2 separate regions of the Homo sapiens genome follow, and region 1 is linked to region 2. The links are contacts of gene promoters, found by promoter capture Hi-C in blood cells and fetal thymus (Javierre and others, 2016). All regions are on one chromosome and are shown on one strand. Each heading gives the region's core, a stretch centred on a gene start or on the middle of the fragment in contact. The rest is flanking DNA. Distances are from core to core; before and after follow the strand shown. Region 1 holds the start of RBM41 (RNA binding motif protein 41). Region 2 holds the start of FRMPD3 (FERM and PDZ domain containing 3).

Evidence for each region. The method cuts DNA at HindIII sites, captures the fragments that hold promoters and counts their contacts. A CHiCAGO score of 5 or more calls a contact.
Region 1: a contact is called between the fragment with the promoter of RBM41 here and a fragment that was not itself captured in region 2, in 1 of 17 cell types (naive B cells). The highest score is 5.1, in naive B cells.

What each region holds. Positions count from the first base shown.
Region 1 is chrX:107,117,572-107,122,315 of GRCh38, reverse strand. It overlaps RBM41 (RNA binding motif protein 41), which reads left to right and starts at 3,494. Exons shown (of 8, transcript NM_001324242.2): 1 at 3,494-3,550. The coding sequence starts at 3,543. RefSeq lists enhancers at 3,541-3,730, 4,111-4,190. The HindIII fragment of the contact is 8,519 bases long and covers 1-4,456 here.
Region 2 is chrX:107,449,573-107,454,066 of GRCh38, reverse strand. It overlaps FRMPD3 (FERM and PDZ domain containing 3), which reads right to left and starts at 4,415. Exons shown (of 15, transcript NM_001388459.1): 1 at 4,062-4,415. RefSeq lists an enhancer at 2,294-3,208. The HindIII fragment of the contact is 4,980 bases long and covers 755-4,494 here.

The sequences.
Region 1 (4,744 bases), core at 2,245-4,744, 330 kb after region 2:
TTTTTGAGTTTTTTGTAGAGATGGGGTTTTGCCATGTTACCCAGGCTGGTCTTGAACTCCTGGGCTCAAAGGACCCACCCGCCTTGGCCTCCCAAAGTGCCAGGATCACAGGCGTGATCCACCGTGCCCAGTCACGTTGACAAATCTTAATTAAAAGGTCAGAAATACAGAAATAAGCTATTTTTACCAGTAATGTTAAAGCATCATTTATGTTAGGCACTGGAGTCTTCAGCCCCTCGTAACCATTGTTAACCAGCTGACATATTAGCTGAAGAATTCTTAAATTTAAAGTGTTGACACTATCCCAGTACATACCCATTTTTTAATCCTTTGAAAAGATGCTATATTTGTTCTCTATAACAGCATTTATGCTATTTCATTTGGGAAATTTGAAAGACTTGCACAGTTGTTTACTCTTAATATAAGATGGTGAGTAGATTCAAGAGAAGATTTTTGGTTTTAACATCTTCTTCCATATCTTGGAATCATAACTGCTTCATAATGTAGTCTTCAGAAGCGTGCCACAAACAAAGCACCTAAAAAGGACAAACTCAGAAAATGTGTCTCTGTTAAGAAGGAGCTTCTGGATTAATTAAACTAACCTTGTTAAATTGACAGAAAGACAAATGAGGCATATTTTTCGGTTTGTCATAAATTCTTCTAGGGGTAAAATTGTGAAATTAGGTAAGATCTCTGTGCCCATGTATAACATCTAGAGATCTCCAAGGCTTTGTATACACTGTCTGATGTCCTTTTAAGCTGGGGAGAAGAATGTTGTGGGAAACAGAATAACTATTATTACACAGTTAACAAGTTTGGCAGAATTAGAAATGGCCTGGTTTTCTTTTTAGTGTAATTTTCTGAATGTTTGTCTGTTTGTACCTATCACTTGCGCTGGTTACAGTTATACACAGGTATGTAGAGTACTTCTTATGACCTTGCTTTCCAGTTGCAATTCCACAGCTATGTGAATATGTATCTTAGCTATTCGTTCTCCACTCATCCCACCTAGTGGATTTGCAATGTAGTGTGTATCATTTCAGTATCAATAGGCTATATGTTTTATTAGAAGTTGTACACAAGTTTGGTGTGATGGTTGGTGTAATATTTGTTCCATCCTTTGCCACCGTCCCAGGGGATAAGCACACTAGCAACCTTGGTGTATTTTTCCATTTCCTTGTCAATATGTCAATTGGGACAGATTGGTTGAGCCACAAAATTCAGCTCTACCACCATATAGGATTTACCTGGTGCAGGCAATGATGTGACCCCCCGTTTTGTTTATACTTATATTCAGTTCACGTTCTGTGCCAAAGCTACAAAGTGGTACATGCTATGCCTGCAGTCATTCACCTTTATGATTCAAGAGCACAGTTATTTGCATGTGACAGGTCTTAGGTAGCTCACCATGACATTTTCAATCTGATAGAAGTTCTCAGGACAGGAAATTCTACAATGTTTTTCAGTAGCTGCTTTTTGGTCCTTTGCTCTAACTTGAGCATGGAAATACAAAGCAGTTTGGATAAGTCTAAATCTACTGATTAACATTTGACTATTTACTCATAGATTACCACTCAATCATGGAATAACTTTAAAACCATACCTTTGTATGTGCTTGACAGTCACCCTATACTTAGGAGGTATCCTCATTTTACAGATGAGAAAACTGGCCTAGACCAGTTAAGAAACTTACTGAAACCCACATGGTCTAGTAACTTACCAGAGCAAAAATTCAAGTCCAGATTGCCTCTAAAACCCTGTCGTGCTATACTGTCAACTGAGAAGTGAGATTCAAATCCAAGTAGTGTGCCCCGCCCCCCACCATTACCTACAATCTTTTCTTCTTTGGCTTCTTGAGATGTAAGAGGGTTTCTCTTTAATTAAAAAAGTATTGACTAGGTAATGTAGTCATGGGTTCAAAATTCAAAGGGCACAAAAAGATACGTGAAGAATTTTTTCTGCCCTTGTCCCTCAGCCATCCAGTTCCCCTACCTGGAGGCATTCACTCATCATTTGTCTGTAAGTTCTCCCAAACATATTTTGTGCATATACAAGCAAACACACATATATATGTTTTTAAGTGACTAGAGCTCCCCTTTTTATGCAAATAGAAGCATAGTATACATATCGTTCTGCACCTTGCTATTGCACTAACTATATTTTGGAGATTGTTTAGTAGCAGTTCATAGAGAACTTTGTCATCTTGGTAACTGCTGCATAGTTTTTCATTGAATGATACATTTTCATAGTATGTTCTTGGATATTTTCATTTCTGTTTTCATAAACAATGTTGCAAGGAATGATAGTAGGTTAGAGGATATATAGTATTGAGGATTCTATTCATAACTGAATTGCTGCTTTAAAGGGAATGTACATTTATGATTTTAGTAGTATCCTCATTTGCCCCCAATAGATGTTGTACCAATTTATATTCCTACCACTAGTGTATTGAGAGCGCCCGTTTCCCCACAATCTCAATAAAACAAGTGTGTTATCAAACTTTTGGATCTTTCCCAATCTGTTAGGTGAAAAATGGTAGTTTAATGTACTTTTAAAAATAAACTTTAAGTTCTAGAACAGTTTTAGATACAGAAAGGTTGCATAGTACAAAGTTCCACATACGTACAACTCAGTTTCCCTTGCATAACTCTGATACATTTGTCACAGCTAACGAACCTTGTTATTAGCTAAAGAGCATAGTTTGTTCACATTTCCTTAGTTTTTACCTCATGTCTTTTTTTCTTTTCCAGGATCCCATCCAAGATACTGCATTACTTTAGTCATCATGACTCCTTTGGTTCCTTTTGGCTGTGACAGATTCTTGTGTTTTTGATGACCTTGCTAGTTTTAAGGAGTACTGGTAGTCAGTGTACTTTAAAATTTGTGAGATTGGACATCTTTTCATACACTTAAAGACATTTGCATTTCCATTTCTGGAAACTAAGAGCCTATGCTTTTAACCACTATACTATACCTCTTTCTTGATTCACCATAATTATCAATAAAACATATGTGGGCCTGAACATACACAGACTTCTGATTCTGAGTGGAGAAAACTCTCAAGTCTCTGTTACAGATAGAGGAGAACCATTAGTACAGGTGATATAGTCAGACTCGTGTCTGATGACTCTGGCTACATCGTGAAGGATGAAGCAGAGGCTCGACTGGAAACGGTAGGTAGGCTGGATAAATCCTTGAAAGAAAAGCAGTGTTGATAAGTTCAAAGGAAATTACAGAAGAGCCAGGAATTAGTGGTAATGGATGAGAGAATCAAGAAGTCAAAGGTGACTCGTTTTATGAGCTGGATATTTTGGGTCTTCTTTTGAACCTAAATGAGAAATTCAAAATAAATATTTGGACAATGTTCAGCATACCTGTCACTTGAGATCTACTTTCTCTTTCTGTTGCCATAGCTCTGTGCTACTACAATTCCCAGAGCCCCATGCTCCATCACAATACCCTTAGAAGTCCGCCGCGCGGAGTTCTGGGACTTGAGGTCCGCGGCCTATTTACCCAAGTTGGAGGTAGGGGCCTGTGGAAACATGAAGAGGTAAGGACTTGTCTGAAGAGCAGGCGGCAAGGGGAGCTTTGTTCTACCTTTTCTTTTGAAAATGGCTTCCATTGCTTTCTGGTTTGGGTATTGCACGTTCTCAGGATGCGGTTTCGTGGGAGCGGGAACACGACAAAGGAGACGGGAGGAGGGGAGACGGGCTGAACAGGCCTGCAGAGCGAAGTTCAGGAAGGGCTGCCACCGGGGCCGGCTGCTGTGGGAATGCCCTCCCGGCACGGGCCCCGGGAGCTGGCCGGGTGCTGCGGCTTCGTCGTTTCACCCGGACCCAGCTGGGCAAAAGGGTTTGAGGCTGACAAATTCCCGGCGCCGGAGATGTAGGTACCTCGGGCCAGCCCCTCGCCGTTCTCCCCTACCTCCACCTCCACCTGAGAAAGGCTCGGGGCGGGCGCATTTATTTGCAACGTCTGTGTGTTAAAGACTACTTGCTTGGGCCCCGAAACCATGTAGCGCTTTCGAATCTTAAAGTAAGGGAGCGGTACTTTGTTTCTAAATGTGGAAGGACAGCACCAAAGCGGTTCGATTTATGGGGTGGGGGGAGGGGAGGTGGAAGGCATTGCTGGGCTCAGTTCCCCTTACTTGTCCTGAGGTAAATGGCCGCTTGAGCCTAAATGGCCTGAGCCTCCTAACTATTGACGGGCTTAAATTAATTTTAGATTCACTCTGCAAGTAGAATCATCACTCTGGAATAGTGCAGTGCATTTAAAATTCTTACTGATATGCTTTCCTGCACTGTCAGTTCCTTGCATCTTTTAAAAAACCGTTTATGACTTTGCCTGCCTGAAACTAACCTTTAATATTTTTTTATGATATCTCCTCCATGCGAAATAATGTATAATGTATATATACAGCTTAAAGAATAATAAAGGTTCGCATCCACTACAAGCTTAAGAAATAGGACATTGCCAGTCCCTTAGAAGTCTACTGTGTCTCTTCCCTCCCTTCGTTCCCCCCTGAGGTGACCACTATCCGGAATTTTGTGTTATTAATTCCCTTGCTTTTAAAAAAGCAAATAGTTTCTAGTACATATGAATTTATCCCTAAACAAAATGTTCCTAGTCATGTATTTGAAGTATTCCTGATACTTCATGCTGGCGTTTCTATTGTAAAAGCTACTAGACTCAATGTGGCTAAAACAATACTGACTTTCCCTTTCCCAAATCATTTATTCCATCT
Region 2 (4,494 bases), core at 1,995-4,494:
AAAAACACTGGCTACGGCATGCATGCTGAGAAAGCTGCAAGAGTGCACACACCTGCTCATTCTCATGTTCCTTAACACAAACACACAGAAATAGACACACCTGCTCCTACAGATACACAAGTAGCACCTCTTTCCCTCTCTCTCCTTTCCCCGCCCCACGTTATACACATATTCCCATTTCCAGGCTCATTTTCTGACTACCAGGGATTGGGCACTAGTGTGCCACAGGCTGTTAATGTTCTGTTTTAAGGATGGTGCCTCAGGTCTCAGAAAAGGGTGCTCTGCCTGTCATGGGTGGGAAATAATACAGAACCCCAAGATCACTGTCCTTGCCTTTGGCAGCTCAGCTGAGGGGAGGAAAGGAGGGAAAATGGCATGTTTCTCTGGATTTGCTCCCTACCCTACCCCTTTGCCCCTAGCCCCAGGATTTCTCAGCAGACAATAAGGTCCACCCCATTTTGAGAGTCCTTCATTTTGGCTGCCGATAATGCAAGAGAATGTTTTTGTTTCTGAACTTATGGTAAAAAGGAAAATAGAAGTCCTTGAGAGAAGAGCCAGAACAGAATTTTCTGCTGGGAATGCTAATGGCCTTAAGGCTGCCCCACAAACAGAAGCTGACTTGAGTGTGCTTCCTCCCAGGGGGCCTGTCAAAGCTAAGGGTCTTCATCTAGTATCAATAGGTATCAATTCTAGTCCCCCTAGCAATGATTGCTAGGGCCTATATGTGAAGGCAAGAACCCCCCAAAACCAAGCTTGTCTGCATGAGCCTCTCTTTCCACAATTTGCCCCAGGTATGTGTTGGGGTTTGAGGGTGTGTCTGAGGGGTGTGTGTCTTGTGTGTGATATGTGTGTGTGTATTTGTGTGTATGTGTATGTATGTGTGTCTTATGGCTTCATTCAGTTAGCCTGGAGGTGCCACAAAAACAGGGATCTTTCCTCTGTTGCATTGGTGCTGCCCCTCCAAGTGCCTTATCAGGCATTAGCCACGGAGTCCAATCATTTATGCGTAGTGGGGGAGGGTGGGTACAGAGTGCTTCCGTTGTCCTGCATCCACCCATGCTCCCTCCAAGGGCTGAAGTAAGGATTACTGCGGTGGGGCAATTCCTCTCCTCTACTCATCCCACCCGAGACTCCTCTGTTACCCACCCCCACCCCCATCTCCAGCAAGCCTTTCCCAGCTTGCTGCTATCATCAGCAATCCCAGGGCTTTCTTGTTGCACTTTTTCAATCTACTACTGCTCCTAGAGGATGTCGTTGGTCACAAAATCCCCCAACTGGGCCACACAGCTCACTTCTCAAGACCCTCGGACTGCACCACTTACAAGAGGGAGGGGTCCCCTGACTCATTCCAAATGCAGCTCGCAGCCTCATAGGAGTCCCCAGACCTCTCCTCCAGTGGGGTAGAGGCTCTGTTGCACTATCCAAAGAAGCCATAGCACCAACAGCATCACGAGCTTATGTTGGAGGGGGCACTTACTGAGTTCAGGCCAATAGTCTGGCCACTCAGCAGAATGCCTCACATATCTGGGAAACCCTCAGGGCCAGAAGCCTGGGGCAGCTGCCACCCTCCCCTGGCCAGTCTCCTCTCCCTGGTGGCCTTCAGCCCACAACTGCAAGGCGGTTGTGGTGTTGGGTGCCAGCGAGAGATAGGGGATATTCTCTCCACATGCAGCAATGAGTGTTTCTTTCCTGCTTATATCTTATTCCCTCCTTTCTCAGAATCTGGCAGTGGCTCCCAATTGCCTCTCAAGTCAATTGAAACCTTCTCTTTGTGGGCCTCAAAACCCTCCACAATTACATCTCACCTTCTGACACCCTCACTCCCACACACACATCACCCATAACTCTGGCCTAGGCACAGACAGTAGAGTAGACAGATGAGGTTGTCCACAAACTGCTCCTGCCTGAGTCCTGCCACAGGTGCCTGAAAGCCCCACCAACAGAGTCACTCCTCTGTGTCCTTTAAAAATGCAAATGTTACCTGTGAGGTGTAAGCAGTAAACCTCTATCAGCTATTAACACCTTGGCCTGGCAGGGATTCTGTCATCAAATTTGCCCGAGCAGTGAGCAAAGCCCCGCCTAAATAATCTAAGGGGGCGGGGGAGAGGACCCAGAGGAGCCCTGAGCAGCCGACGGGAGGGGCAGGAGCAGGGAAGGGGCTCTGACGTAGAAGCCATCGCCGTCACGATTTTACCACGGTCTACATTCTAACTCCGCATCTCTACTTAAAACAGTAAAACCCACTAGTCCTTGCTCCCCTCAACCTTGTTTCCCCCATCCACAATACATTATGCCTTATTTAACCTCAGGGGTGCCTTCATGACAAGCTGCTAAGGTTGAATTAGTCCTTTCACATGAAATACAAAAACAAACAAACAAAAAAACAAGCCATGAAATTGGGTAGACGCTGGCATGTTTGCTTGGGCACGGCCAAGTCTTGTTGAGGTCTCCCCGGGTAGAGCAAGATCTCTTTGCTCAGCGGAAACAGCAAAGGCTTCCCGAAAAGCCTCTCTTAGCTCCCAAGAAGCTGGCAGCTGGGTTCCCCCTGCTTCTCCTGCAGTGAGCTTCATGGGCAAGGAAGGCGAGGGAGGGGCAGGGCCTCCAAGCTGAGGGCCTCTGTGGCTGAACTGGCACACTATCCCGGGTCCTCTAGGCCCAGGTGGAGTTCGCCATTTACCCCGGTCTCCAGCTGGGAAAACTCACTTGGTGCTTCGCTCTGAGTCAGCATAGAATCCCCCACCCTCCACTTCGAGAAGGGCGCCCCCAAGGGAGCCTTGCGCTTATAGCAGTTCCTCCGAAGGCAGGAGTCCAGAGACTGCCCCGCCCTCCGTAAGAGCTGCAGGATGCTAAGACCACCCGGTGGACTCCAGGGTTTTGCACCTGGACCAAGATGCCAAGGGGAGGGGCAGGTCTAGCAGAATTCGGCGTTTGCTGTCATCTGGGGCTCTTTAGTTGCAGCTGCAAGGGTGGAGGTGCCACCTGCTTCTGGGGGAAGGTGTCAAACATTTGCCCCTGCAGTGGTTTCAGTGTGTGTGTATGGGGCTGTGGTGTGTGTGTGCAGGAAACCCAACAGCTCGAGCGTGGAGGGTATGACTACCAGAGTTGGGCACGCTTTTTGCCAGAATGGGGTTCTTAAGGGCTCTGGTGGAGGTGTCTACAGTAGCTGCGTGTGACGGGGGGTTGCTGGGTGTGTATTGGGGGGAAGCAGCAGGTACTGGATCTGCAGTAATGTGCAGTTGTCATGTAGTTTCTCAAGACCACTCTGAGAAAACACACACACACTCACATACACACACACACTCTCCAACCTCCAAAGCACTAGGCTGGGGAGTAGAGGAGTGTGTTTGTGTGTGCATGTTTTAGCAGCGCTAGGGGGAGGTGCATGTATCTGTATATGTGTTTGAGCTTTATTAGCATCTTGGTGGGAGGGGGCAAGTGTAGCTCGCGCTCTCTCTCTCTCTCTCTGTGTGTGTGTGTGTGTGTGTGTGTGTGTGTGTGTGTGTGGTCTTTGCATGGGGCTGACTGTGTGGCTGAGCGCCGGGTATGTTGTGCGGCTGTGTGTGCGTGTGTGTGCGCCTCCGTGTCCGCTTGTGAACATGGCCCCGGGAACCACGCACATGCTTCAGACAGCTGTTTCTGGCAGCCCCTGGGCTCGGGCTTCGCCGGGCACCCCGGCTAAGTGGCCACCTCCTAGCAGCCAGGCCCCGCGTCTCGCCAGCTCTCCCAACTGTGCCCACAGCCCAGGCGCGCACACAAAGGCTCCATAATGAACGCGCTGCACTCCCCTGCGCTCGACTCCTCACCCCGCACCCGCGGAGGCCAAACGAGCCCGCCAAGCCAGAGACTCGCCGGGGCAGTGGGCACGCAACGGGCCGTTACCCCGCCCGCCCAAACTCCGGGCGGCCAGACGTTCGGCGCCCCCCGCCCTGCCCCCGGCTCCCGGGGGCGCCCAAGCGCCAGTCGCCCCCCAGCCGGCCCGGGGCGGAACGCTCCCGCCGCGACCCACCCCCGGTTGGGCTGAGACAGCGGGCGCGCCCCCCTGAAGGCAGCGCGCCTCTTACCTTCCTCCCCCTCCTCTTCCTCCTCCTCTTCCTCCTCCTCCTCCTCCTCCTCCGCCTCCTCAGCGGCGCGGCAGCGGCGGCGCAGCGGCGGCGGCGGCGGCGGCGGCAGCGGGACTAGGGCACCCGTGCCCCCGAGCCCGGCATGGGCTTGGGGCTCAGTGGCGCCGGGCGGCGGGGCGGGCAGAGGTTGGCAGGGCGGCAGCAGCTGGCCCGGGACGCGGGGAGCTGGCGCGCAGGCGGCGGGCTGCGGGCAGGATGGCAGGAGCGCGCGCGGGCTCCTCGGGCGGGCTTCATGGCTGCGCCGCGGGCGGCACCATCGCCGTGGCTCGCTCGTCGCTCTCTCGCTCCAGGAGTGCGGCAGGCTGCGAGGTGACGGATGGCGGCGAGGCGGCCGGACGGCCGAGGAGGGGAGGGGAGAAGGGGCGGGGGGAGG